Linked DNA regions of Homo sapiens: region 2 is linked to region 1. Evidence: promoter capture Hi-C in human tissues and cell types (Jung and others, 2019). All regions are on one chromosome and are shown on one strand. The core of a region is centred on a gene start or on the middle of the fragment in contact, and the rest is flanking DNA. Distances in the headings are between cores, read along the strand shown. Region 1 holds the start of BCAR1 (BCAR1 scaffold protein, Cas family member). Region 2 overlaps CHST6 (carbohydrate sulfotransferase 6).

Region 1 (6,513 bases), core at 1,012-3,511:
AAGTCAGGGAAGCAAGACACAGGTGGAGCCAGGGCCTCTCCTGTGCTCGGAGGGCCAGGAAGGGCCTGACAGAGGGCAGAGCCCCACCCTCTTACACGGAGACCACCCTGCAGCCCTTTATCTGGGGGCCAAGGAAGAGGCTTGCCCAGTGTCTTTGCTGGAGAAACTTCCCTATCACCCAATCCCACTCCCCACACTTCACCTCTGACTCCAAAACTGCCTCCTCTTAGAAGCCCCCCTGGAGCGCACCTCCCCTGCTGGTTGGTTCTAGCTGACCAGTTGGTTTAGCCGGCTGTGGGCTCCTGGGGGCAAGGGAAGGAGTTGTCCAGGCTCAGAAGAAAAGGGTGGTAGGACCTCCTAAAGGGACAGCAGATGCCAGGAGAGGGCCGCAAAGGCACAGCGTTGGAACCAGAGGGTTCCTACCAAGTTGACAACTCCAAAAGAGCATGGTGGTCCCCCAAGGACCAGAGCTCCCCCAATCCCAGACTGGGAATTCGGAGGCCACATGTGGTGCTGCACTGGGGGGCCATGCCAGAAGACGAGGTTCTGGATCCAATTCTGAGGACAACTGACTGTCTCTCTGTACCTCAGTGTCCCCATCTGCACCATCCGTATAATGGGAAAGGGGTTTGAGGAGCTGTCTCAGGGCCCCTCCTGTACAGACAGGAGGCCCTAGTGGCACTGTCCTTATTTCCATCCCTCGCCTAGACCTGGGGCCATGGTACCAGTACACAGTGCTCACCCTCCTGCTCAGACAAACAGTAACGGCCAGAAGCTCCAAGCCTCCTGCCCCAGCCCAAGGTGACTTTCCTGGCAGAACCTGGGACTGCCCTGCCCTGCCCTGCCTCCACCCAGCTCCCGGGCAAGCAGTGCCAGGAGGAAGTGTCAGCAGCTCCTCCCCAAAGCTCTTTTCCCCACAGCCCCGCCACCCCCGTACCTGGGCCCCGATTCTCCAGGCACCCCGACACCTGCTCTCACAGGCCGGCCAGCCCCCACCACCCAACTCTCCACCGAGGGAAAGGAATGGGCACAAGAGGGGGCGTGTCCCGGCCCAGGGCGATGGGAAACATCTCACTAGCAAAGAAGAGATCAACCCATGGTCATTCTGAGAAGGTGACCAAAGCTGCGGCGGGCCCCGGGAGGGGTGTGGGAAAGGAAACCAGGGACTCTCAGGAGGGAACGGGAGCCTTGTGGTAGAAAAGGAGCTGCTGTCCCCGATCTGGAACTCGAAACCCCAACATCTTCCAGGCCGTAAGCCCCTCACCCCGCACCCCTAGGCAAATCTCCGCTTTCCCAACTCCCTCACCTCGGTCCAGCGATCAGCCTCTCGGACCCTCGAGAGGGAGCTCCGACCCTGCTCTAGCTCTTGCGGGTCCCCCAACCATGGACTCCAAAGCCTTCATGTCCACACTGCAGAACCCGGCCCTGGCCCCCTCCCGCGACACTCGCGTGCGGCTAGGACTCCTGTGGCCAGGACCCGGCTTCCACCGGCGCTCGGCGTGCGGGGCTGCAAAGCCCGCGGCGCGCCCGCCCCCACTCCCGCTCCGCTCCCGGAACCCCGCGCCGGCGGCCGGAGTGAATCATTAACTGGAGCCGGGTGCTCCGGCTGCGCAGCCTTCCCCGCTGGCGCCACGCACTTGCCCGCCCGGCCTCGGTCCCCCGGAGCTCCTCCCTCTCCGGGAGCCGGTGGGCAGTCCCCACGCCACACCAGCCGGACCACCCGCCAGAGGCTCAACGGCCCCTCCTCGCAGCCGAGGAAACTGAGGCTCGGAGGCAGGGCGCAGAGGCCCAAGGTGACACAGCAGGCGGCCGTCGGCCGGGGAGCGCGGGCCCCGCCAGCCACTTTCCCGACACAGGAACCCTCCTACCGGCTGGCGGCCCCCGCGCCCGGCCCCGCCAACGCACCCGAGGCGCACAGGCTCCGGAGCCCCCGCGGTTCCTGCCTCCCGGCTTCCCGGCCAGGGCAGAAGGAGATCCCAGGGCCGCGGACCCCGGCCGGCGGTTCCCAGGCCCCGCAGGTCCGGCAGGAAATGCCGCTCGCTTAACCCCTTCCAGCCCGCTGCCGCCTCCAAGCCCGTACGCGGCCCGGCCCCACCTGGCGCCCTCACCAGGTGGTTCATGGTGTCCGGCGGGCCTGGGGCCCCGGCTCTCGCGGGGGCGCACACCGAGCTGCCCGGGCCGCGTGCCCTCGGGGCTCCGAGCGCGCCGCAGCCGCCCCGGTGCCGCCGCGCAGCTGCCGCCTCGGCCACCCAGAGCCGGTCCAGCCGCTCTCCGCCTGCCGCCACGGCCCAGCCGGCCCAGCCCGATCCCAGCATGCCCGGCCGCGCGCGCCCATTGGCCGCCGCCGCTCTCCATGCAAATAAGCCGCCTGTCGGGGGCGCGGGCGCGCAGACAGAAGCCCGCCCAGTAGGGGCCGCCCCCCGCCCCGCCCCCCACCTCCAACCCCGAGGCTCCAGGCCCCTGCCCGAGGCCAGGCTTCCAGCCTAGGGCGCAGGACACCGCTCTCCAACAAATGCACGTCCCCGCCTTCCACCCAGGCGAGAACGCACCGAAGGCCTACGCAAACTCCTCCACTTCTGGGAAGGCTGCCCGGTTTGCCTTCTTCCTCCAGAGCCGAGACATGGCCTCAAGTCGACTTGTCTTTCCCGCTAACCAACCCCAGGGCATTCATCGCGTGTCCATGGGCCGTGGGACTCAAATCTGAATCTAGAGGGAAAGGGGAGGGGGCGTGCCCCAGCCTGTAGGAGACGAATCATCACCACCACAGCTCCGACTGTAGACGGTCCCACCGTGTAAGGACCCCAGGAAATGAAGCCTCAAGCAGGGAGGCTGGCGAGCTCTCGACCCAGCGCTTTTCACGGGCAGCACCTACCTTCCCCTGCATTGTGCCGACATCTGGGGACTCGGGCTGGTCCTCCAGCTGATCTGCCTCCTCTCATTACTCATTCCTAGGTTCAGCCTAAAACCTGGGCCTAGTACCCTCCTGAGTCCTGCTCCAACTCATCTGCTTCAGCGACATGGGGTAGGAGAGCGGCACTGGGGGAATGAGGGAGATAGAAGGAAGAATCACTCGGGGGAAACCGAGTGGAGACAACCTTGGCTCTCCTGAGTTGCCCCTTGCTCGGTTGCAGGTCAGTGACTGTCACCCCATGCAGCAGAACCAGGGTGCCAGAGCCCCTGGGCCAGGCCAGGGAGGCACAATCTGCAGGGAGATGATAGGACCGAGCCTGGTCCAGACCAGACAGGACCCTCAGTCAACAATCCTGGGCCACTGGCTGAGCAATGGGATGCCACGAGGCAGCCCTGGTGGCAGGGAAGCAGCGGGGTAGACCCGGCTTCACGCAGCAGAGAATTCTCAAGCATGGCCTATGGAAGACACAAGCCCAGGTGGGCCTGCAGCTGCCCCTCTGTCTGACCCCCAGGGCTCAGCCTACGCAGCGCCTGGCCAGATGTGCCACCTTGGCAGGCCCTCTCCCCTCTCTGGGCTCCTTTCTCATCTGAAAAGGGGCTAGGACAGCCCATGATTTGCTGCTCAGGTGCTCTGGGGAGCTAGTTAAAAAACAGACTCCTGTGTCCCACCCCTCCCAAAAAACTGGACGTCTGCATTTCTTCAATATTTGGCTTGGGAAGCATTGGCCAGAACTCACAGCACAGCGGGTGAGGAAGGAGCAGTGGGATGAGACAGAGCATGACCCAGAGTCCTCAGGAGGAACAGAACAGCTAGCCAACACCCTGTGCCTCCCCGACACAGCCCGCCTCGCCTCAGAAGAGGAGCCAGCCTTCAGGGAAGCTGCCTGGAGCATCTCCTCCTGCTTGTTCCCAAGAGCTGTGCCGGGCCCCTCCTGCACCCTGACCCTGTCCAGCCACCCACTCCTCAGCCTGGCTGGCACACCAGCTTCCCAGAGAGCAGGTCTGAACCAGCGGGACCCTCAGGAGCCTGAGGTCATCCCTGGGCCTCCACTTCTGTGGGGAGGGGAGACCAGGCCTCATGGGCAGGCAGTGCCCTGCTGGCAGGGCCCCAGGCAGCAGTCTCTGCAGGGACGGGCAAGGACACAAAAGGCCTGGCCCTCAAGGGAGCTGGCCCCTGCTCCATCCTAGTTGGCCAAGGAGGGCGGTGCAGAGAGGAGGTGGATGGCTGGAACCTTGGGGGATGAGACCCTCCTCCCCCAGTAGCTGCATTAGAACAGCACTGGGGGTGGGGCTGCTGGTGTGAGCAGGAGGCAGCAAGGGAAACAGGCTCCGACACAGGCATTTCAAAAATTTGCTCCTTTTCCACTTAAATTCCCTCCCCCAAAAGCCTGTGCCTCCCAGAATGGCATTTCCGCTTTGGAAACAAGGCCCCAGAAGTTAAGCCCCACAGTGTTGATGGGGATGTAGCTGGGGGGTGGGGGAGGAGCACCCACTGGCCAGGCTCTGGCCGGGGTATATGGGGGCAGAACCTCACCCCACCCCCAGTCCAGCCTCCCGGACCTCCGCTGTCAAGGACAGGGATGCAGCCCCACATACCCAGCACAGCCTCTGCGCCCAGCCAGTGCCAGGGGCCCTATGCCCATGCATTTATTTTGTGCACACAGCAATCCTGCAAAACAGGCTCACCGTTAGCCCCAATTTTTTTTTTTTTTGAGATGGGGTTTCACCATATTGGTCAGGCTGGTCTCGAACTCCTGACCTCAAGTGATTCACCCACCTCAGCCTCCCAAAGTGCTGGGATTATAGGCGTGAGCCACTGCACCCAGCCTAGCCCCATTTTTCACATGAAGAGACCGAGACCCAGTTTACCAACCACTGCCCCATCCCACACATTTCGGGGCACAGAAGGGACAGGGCCAGGGAAGAAATGGGGCTGCTAGACCTCAGCCCACCCTGCAGCAGGAAGGGAATCTAGGGACAGGGACAGCAGCACTCCAGGCTCAGAAAGCCAAACACCCCTGTCACACTCAGACTGCAAAAGGACAGGCAACTGAGACCTAAGCACCTTCCTCCCCAGTAAAACTGAGCTCAGCACTGGGGCCAGCACCACCCCCACCCCACTAAGTTTAGCCCCATTGGTGAGAAGGGGTGCAGTAAACATTTGTTGACTGGGTGGGACCTCAGAGGTGGCCCTCATGGGATAGGCTGGCCTGGGTGAAGAAATCTGAGGCTGCCCCAGTCTGGAGGATGGGGGTGGTTAAGTCACGCCTAAGTGCAGAGGCACACACTTGCATACACACAGCACACACGCATGCGTATACACACAGTGGGACTGGCAGCAAGGAGAGACGCCCTGAATAAGGAGGAGCTGGGAGAGGTTGTTGCCAGACCAAGGGAGACAGCTGCAGATATGTGGCCGGGGCACCAGCACAGGGCCCTCCCAGACAGTTGTGTCATCCCAGGAGTGGCCTGGCACCTCCAGCCAGGTTGAAGATGAGCTCACAGGCTGGAAGGGATGTCTCCAACCCCTCAGGGCCTGGAATAGCTGTTTGTACAGAAAACAGGTGGACCCAGCACACCAGGACACTAAGTGTCTGGAGTGGAGGGGGTTATACTGGACCCAAGTGGAAAGATAAGCCTGGGATAGGGTTCCTGCTCTTTGGGCTTTCTGAGATCTGCCTTCAGGACAGACCCACTGCACAGAACTTTTCTTGCTCAATGCTCACCAATGTCCACTGCAGCATTTATGACAGCAAAGCATGGAGCAAAACAGGCTCACCTATCAATGCTAATTCTAGGGGACCGGTGAGACAAACCACAGCGCCTCAGTAGAATAGCTTGCAGCTATTAGATGGCCTCTTCCAAAGACTGAAATAATGCAAGAAAATGCTTACAACAAACTAAAGTGAAAAGAGCAGGCTAAAACCAGTTTGCACAGTGTAAAGGCACACAGCCCCCTCCCCTCCTGAAGCCTCGGCCTCCCAGCAGCAGGGAGGGTGGACTCGGTTGATGGCCAGCTCTGGGAGCGGCAGCAGGAGAGGATTTCCTGAGGCCGGAGGTGAGCACTGCCAGCCCCAGGAACAGGAAGAAACGGTATCTCTGGAGGGCCAATGAGAGCTGACACCATCCCCCTAGGCTGGACACTCACAGTGGCAAGCTCAAAACCAAGGCAAGGCTGGGCAAGGTGGCTCACGCCTGTAATCTCAGCACTTTAGGAGGTCGAGACTAGCCTGTCCAACATGGCGAAACTCCGTCTCTACTAAAAATACAAAAATTAGCTGGCCGTGGTGGCGGGCACCTGTAATCCCAGCTACTCAGGAGGCTGAGGCAGGATAATTGCTTGAACCAGGAGGTGAAGCAGTGAGCTGAGATCACGCCACTGTACTCCAGCCTGGGCGATAGAGCAAGGCTCCATCTCAAAAAAAAAAACAAAAAACAGCTGGGCACAGTGGCTCACGCCTGTAATCCCAGCACTTTGGGAGGCCAAGGCGGGCAGATCATCTGAGGTCAAGAGTTCAAGACCAGCCTGACCAACATGGTGAAACCCCGTCTCTACTAAAAATACAAAATTAGCCGGGCGTGGTGGCACATGCCTGTAATCCC
Region 2 (6,513 bases), core at 1,314-3,813, 220 kb after region 1:
CTTTGGGAGGCAGAGACGGGCGGATCACGAGGTCAGGAGATCGAGACCATCCCTGGCTAACACGGTGAAACCCCGTCTCTACTGAAAATACAAAAAAATTAGCCGGGCGTGGTGGCAGGTGCCTGTAGTCTCAACTACTCGGGAGGCTGAGGCAGGAGAATGGTGTGAACCCAGGAGGTGGAGCTTGCAGTGAGCTGAGATTGCGCCACTGCACTCAATCCTGGGCGACAGAGCGAGACTCCGTCTCAAAAAAAAAAAAAAAAAAAAAAAGAAACAGAAGTCTCTCTTGAAACCTCCGTTTAGGAAGCTTCCTCCTGCCAGTTCCCTACCACTACAATTGGCGTTTTGCATCAACCAAGAAACCTATCTAAAATAAAAATAGGAAGTATAAAAAGGGTCAGGAAATACTGACCTTTTAACCATGCTGTCTTTTTGGTACATTTCCCAGACTAGCAGAGTCTATTAGAAGTGGAAGAAACCGCTGGGCGTGGTGGCTCATGCCTGTAATCCCAGCACTTTGGGAGGCTGCGGCGGGTGGATCACGAGGTCAGGAGTTTGAGACCAACCTGACCAACATGGTGAAACCCCGTCTTTACTAAAAATACAAAAATTAGCCGGGCATGGTGGCATGTGCCTGTAATCCCAGCTACTCAGGAGGCTGAGGCAGGAGAATTGCTTGAACCTGGGAGGTGGAGGTTGCGGTGAGCCGAGATCGCACCATTGCACTCCAACCTGGGCGACAGAGCAAGACTCTGTCTCAAAAAAAAAAAAAAAAAAAGAAAAAGGGCCAGGTGTGGTAGGTCACACCTGTAATCCCAGCACTTTGGGAGGCCGAGGCAGGCAGATCACGAGGTCAGGAGTTCCAGAACAGCCTGACCAACATGGTGAAACCCCATCTCTACTAAAAATACAAAAATTAGCCGGGCCTGGTGGCATGCGCCTGTAATCCCAGCTACTTGGGAGGCTGAGACAGGAGAATTACTTGAACCCGGGAGGCAGAGGTTGCAGGAGCCGAGATCGTGCCATTGCACTCCAGTCTGGGCAACAAAATGAGACTCTGTCTCAAAAAAAAAAAAAAAAAAAAAAAATCAGCTGGGCGTGGTGGTGGGCGCCTGTAATCCCAGCTACCGGAGAGGCTGAGGCAGGAGAATGGCGTGAACCCGGGAGGTGGAGCTTGCAGTGAGCAGAGATCGCGCCACTGCACTCCAGCCTGGGCAACAGAGCGAGACTCCGTCTCAAAAAAAAAAAAAAAAAAAAGTGGAAGAAATCAATTATTGTAGGGTTACATAATCAATTATGTATTACATTAGGAAACATTATTTTGAATTTAGAATTCGATCTTTAGTTCATTTATGAATTGACAGGTTAAAAAAAGACATTTAGCCTTGCAGGACTCAGAAAATGGAGGTTTCCTGGGCCCTGTCTAAGGAAGCCAAGGAGGCGGTCCAGCACACCAGACCCCCTGGCCCCTTGCTGCTCTTTCAACAAGCCAGATGCCTCCCCTCCTTAGGGCTTTTGTGTTAGCTCTTTCCTGCTCCCAGACAGGCTACCCATGATTGCCCTTAACATACTCCCTCACCTCCTGTAAGACTTTCCTCAAATGTCGCTTTCTCACTGAGACCTACCCTGATCACCCCATTAAAAATTACAACTCACACCTCTACACACATATATTCCTCATCCCCCGATCCTTCTCTACTTTAATCCTTGGCACTTTCTAATATGCTAAATAATGTAGCCATTTATTAAGCTTATTCATCAGCTATCTCCCCACCATCAGAATGCAAGTTCCTGAAGGGCAGGGTTGTTGTTGTTGTTGTTTGAGAGAGTCACACTCTATCGCCCAGGCTGGAGTGCAGTGGCGCGATCTCAGCTCACTGCAACCTCCGCCTCCCAGGTTTAAGCGATTCTCCTGCCTCAGCCTCCTGATTAGCTGGGATTACAAGCGTGCACCACCACCACCACGCCTGGCTAATTTTTGTATTTTTAGTAGAGATGGGGTTTCACCATGTTGGCCAGGCTGGTCTCGAACTCCTGACCTCATGATCTGCCTGCCTCGGCCTCCCAAAGTGCTGGGATTACAGGCGTGAGCCACTGCGCCTGGCTGGTTTTTGTTTTGTTTTGTTTTGTTTTGTTTGTTTTTGAGATGGAGTCTCGCTCTGTCGCCCAGGTTGGAGTCCTTTGGCGCCATCTCGGCTCAATTCAACCTCCGCCTCCCGGGTTCAAGCAATTCTCCTGCCTCAGCCTCCTGAGTAGCTGGGACTACAGGTGCATGCCACGATGCCCAGCTAATTTTTATATTTTTAGTAGAGACTGGGTTTCACCATATGGGTCAGGCTGGTCTTGAACTCCTGACCTCAGGTGATCCACCTGCCTCGGCCTCACTAAGGGCTGAGATTAGAGGTGTGAACCACTGCACCCAGCCTAGGGCAGGGGTTTTTGCTTTTTGTCTGTTTTTGGTCCTGCTGTATCTCCAGCTCCTATAATAGCCCAGTGCCTGGTTGGTGCTCAACCCATAATGTGTGTTGAATGAATGAGTGGAGTTCTTGAGGACTGGGAGCAGAATAACACAAGACTTGCAGGACAGGCCAGGTTTTCTGGTCTTACTCCCAAAGGAGAAAATGCTCGATTGGCTGGAATGAATTGCCATCTTGGAAAAATGGATAGTAGGCCAATCCTTTCCATTTCATCAAGACTTTAGCTCTGGTTCTTTCGTTTTTTGTTTGTTTGAGACAGAGTCTCGCTCTATTACCCAGGCTGGAGTGCAGTGGGGCGATCTTGGCTCACTGCAACCTCTACCTCCTGGGTTCAAGCAATTCTCATGCCTCAGCCTCCCAAGTAGCTGGAATTTCAGGCACATACCACCACGCTTGGCTACGTTTTTGTATTTTTTTTAGTAGGGACAGGGTTTCGCCAAGTTGCCCAGGCTGGTCTCGAACTCCTGAGCTCACGCAATCTGCCCACCTTGGCCTCCCAAATTGCTAGCATTACAGCTGCACCCAGCCTAGCTCTGGTTCTTAAGGAACATGGTCTGAATAGAGTCATTCACAGAATAAGGATTTGCACTGTGAGAGGATATTTAAATTGTAAGAGAATCTGCTGGGGGCAGGTGGTGCTTAAATCTAAATCCATTAACTTGTGAAGGTAGTCGGGATAACCCACTGGACCTCAGCATAGGGGTCACTCGACCTAAAGAAATTGCTCGCCTGATCCACTGGTGTGGAGTGGGCCTGTGGGTGAGGGACAGATTCCAGCCCATGGTGGTTTCAGTGTGTGATGAGTGAGATCATTCAGTAGAGGGCGCTGGGAGAACTGATGACTCGCACCGATCAGGAATATTGCATGCAATTTAGATCCAAGCGTAAAACACTAGACTACTAAAGTACTGGAAGCAAGCGTGAAGACCATTTTTATCACTGTAGCAGGACAAAGTCGTTTCAACAAGACATAAAATCCACTGGCCATAAGGAAAGGATTCACATTCAACAATATGATAAACTAGGTGAAACTTTTTGAAATTTGATTGTGATGAGGTGGTGATTTGATTTCACAGGTATATACAAATGTTTAATCAAACTTTACACTTTATGTGCAGATGTTGTATATCAATTATAGCTCAATGAAGCTTCTTTTTTTTTAAGAAGCCTGAGGGGAAAATGCCATAAAGTAAGTTAACAAAACAACAACAACAAAAAACAGATGACAAGCTAGGAGAAACCATTTGCACAACAAAAATAACAAAGCATATTCAAAAGAGGCTGTGGTAAGTCAACAGCAACATGGGCACAGCCTTGAACAATGAAAAAGGAATACAGTTGAGTCATAAGCATGAAAAGATGTTCAGCTGCCCCAGGAATTAAAGAAGTGCAGACTGAAACATCAAGTAACATTTTTCACCCATCAGGTAGGCAAAAATTAAAACCATTGATTTAACCCTGTAGAGGTGATGGGGCAGTTGTGGCAGTGGTGGGGCGCAGTCTGTAGGAGTGGGTGACAAAGGCACATCAAAGACAAAGCTAGGGGACACAGGGTCTGTGGTGGCCATGAGGAGTTGATACAGTGTTGATGTGGATAATATATCTTCTTGATGCAAAATAACAAAAATAAGGCCCACCATTGATTCCCCAACAGCCTCTTGATAGGTGGGTTCTCTGACCTATTCCAGGCAACACTGTTTCTATGCACCCATCAGCCCATCTAGTGCTTTGATTGCCCCTTCTGAGCTCCCACAGCCAGAGCAGAGGCAGCAAGCGTGCCTGCCCCTAATTGTGGGTGACTGCTGGGCCTAGACACTTCTAGCTGCATCACAGGGCCTACAGGTAAGGGGAGACACTAATTACAGCCCTACCAGCAGGGAGGGAGCCTGGACCCTGGTGGAAATTGGAAGCTGCAGGTGCCAGGAGCCCTCCGTTCTCAAGTGTATCGGTTAGGCAATGCTACGTAACAAACCACCACAACACTCAAATGACTGAAACACAATAAGCACTTTTATTGCTCCTAAAGTCTTCGACTTGGCCGCAGTGCTGGGCTCAGCTGGCCTCGCTCATATGTCTTTATAGCTACTCTTCTCAAGTGGTGGACTCAGTTTCCCCACCTCTGAATCTGGGTGAGCCCTGGGACTCCCTTTGGCCAGTAGAAGGTAGCCGAAGTGGCTGCGTGCGGATCAGCTGGAGCTGGCTGGTCTAGGATGGCCTGGTTTGGGACCCCTGAACTCTCCTTCTCATGGTCTCTGCTTGTCCAGCAGGCTGGCCTGGGCTTTCTCCCGGGCAGAGGCGGAGGTCCGAAGCAAAGGAGCAGCACGCAGGTTCTCTTCAGGTGGAGGAAAGCAGAGGCGTCAGCTCAGACTATGCCTTTTTCACATAAAAAATGATTTTCAGCTGAAGGCAATTAAGAAGCAGAAAGTGCAGGAAAAGTTCAGGTTTCCCTCCCCTTTTCTGCCTAAAGGCACGATATAAACTCTCCATCACTGGACACAACCCTTGACTCAGAGGTGGTACCAGAGGCTGCTGCAGACAAATCCTGTTGCATCAGCTTCCTCTCGGATATTTACCATCCCATAGTTTACCACCTTTGGAAGCCTAAAACTGTTGTCCTTGGTCATCCTATCTCTACAAATTTATTGTATTTTTTAAAAATGCTGTGTAAGACAGTGTTCCAAGCCATCACTTTGTTACTTTTCATTGAGGCTTATCCTGAGTGATGTTGGCTGCCTGTGTTAACAAACTGTTTTTCGCCAGGTACAGTGGCTCATGCCTGTAATCCTAGCACATTGGGAGGCCAAGGCAGGTGGATCACCTGAGGTCAGGAGTTCCAGCCCAGCCTGATCGACATGGTGAAACCCCATCTCTACTAAAAATACAAAAAAAATTAGCCGGGCGTGGTGGTGTACATCTGTAATCCCAGCTACTCGGGAGGCTGAGGCAGGAGAATCGCTTGAAACTGGGAGGCGGAGGTTGCAGTGAGCCAAGATGGCGCCACTGCACTCCAGCCTGGGGGACAAGAGCAAGACTCTGCCTCAAAAAAACAGAAACAAAAACATTGTTTTTCTTTGTGAATCTGTCTTTTCATTAAAAAGTCTCTCTTAATCTGTTTTGTTTTGCTATAACAATACCACAGATGGGGTCATTTATTTAGAGATAGGTGTCTTGCTCTGTCACTCAGGCTGGAGTGCACTGGCATGATCATGGTTCAATGTAGCCTCAACCTCCCAGGGTCAAGCAGTCCTCCCAACTCAGCCTCCCAAGTAGCTAGGACTACAGGTGCACGACACCATGCCCTGCTAATTTTTTTTTAACTTTGTAGAGATGGGGTCTCACTATGTTGCCCAGGCTGGTCTTGAGTGCCTGGTCTCAAGTGATCCTCCTGCCTCAGCCTTGCAAAGTATTGGGATTACAGGCGTGAGCCACTGAACCCAGCAAGGGTCATATATAATAAATAGAAGTGTATTGGCTTACAGTTCTGGAGGCTGGGAAGCCCAAGATCAAGGAGCCAGCATCTAGCGAGAGCCTTCTTGCTGTGTCCTAGCATGATGGAAGGCATCATATGGCAGAAGGGCAAAGTGAGGGCGAGAGAAAGACAAAGAATGAACTCCTTCATTTAAAAGGCACCACTCTCAGGATAACCAACTCACTCCTGAAATAATGGTGGTTTTTTTTAAGACAGACTCTCGCTTTGTTGCCCAGGCTGGAGTACAGTGGTGCGATCTCAGCTCACTGCAATCTCTGCCTCCTGGGTTCAAGCGATTCTCCTGTCTCAGCCTCCCAAGTAGCTGGCCTTACAGGCATGTGCCACCACACCTGGCTAATTTTTGTATTTTAACTAGAAATGGTGTTTTACCTTGTTGGCCAGGCTGGTCTCAAACTCCTGACCTCAAGTAATCCGCACACCTCAACCTCCCAAAATGCTGGGATTACAGACATGAGCTACCATGCCTGCGCCCAGAAATAATGTTCTCTACCCATTCACAAGGGCATAACCCGCACGGCGTAATTTACTTTCCATCAAGCCTCACCT

The links. Contacts are between HindIII fragments. The study calls those that stand out against the background at their distance.
Region 2: a contact is called between a fragment that was not itself captured here and the fragment with the promoter of BCAR1 in region 1, in 2 of the 25 tissues and cell types used here (lymphoblastoid cells and pancreas).

What each region holds. Positions count from the first base shown.
Region 1 is chr16:75,249,363-75,255,875 of GRCh38, forward strand. It overlaps BCAR1 (BCAR1 scaffold protein, Cas family member), which reads right to left and starts at 2,262. Exons shown (of 7, transcript NM_014567.5): 1 at 2,109-2,262. The coding sequence starts at 2,120. LOC105371344 (a long non-coding RNA gene) reads left to right here and starts at 6,436. Exons shown (of 3, transcript XR_933740.3): 1 at 6,436-6,513. RefSeq lists silencers at 2,145-2,304, 2,365-2,474 and enhancers at 2,474-3,014, 3,555-4,095, 4,096-4,635, 4,636-5,176, 5,716-6,256 and 1 more. The HindIII fragment of the contact is 33,708 bases long and covers 1-6,513 here.
Region 2 is chr16:75,468,659-75,475,171 of GRCh38, forward strand. CHST6 (carbohydrate sulfotransferase 6) reads right to left here. Exons shown (of 3, transcript NM_021615.5): 3 at 3,394-6,513. Among named protein-coding and RNA genes, the nearest start is that of TMEM170A, 7.2 kb to the left of the region's middle. RefSeq lists an enhancer at 2,991-3,633. The HindIII fragment of the contact is 5,677 bases long and covers 1-5,402 here.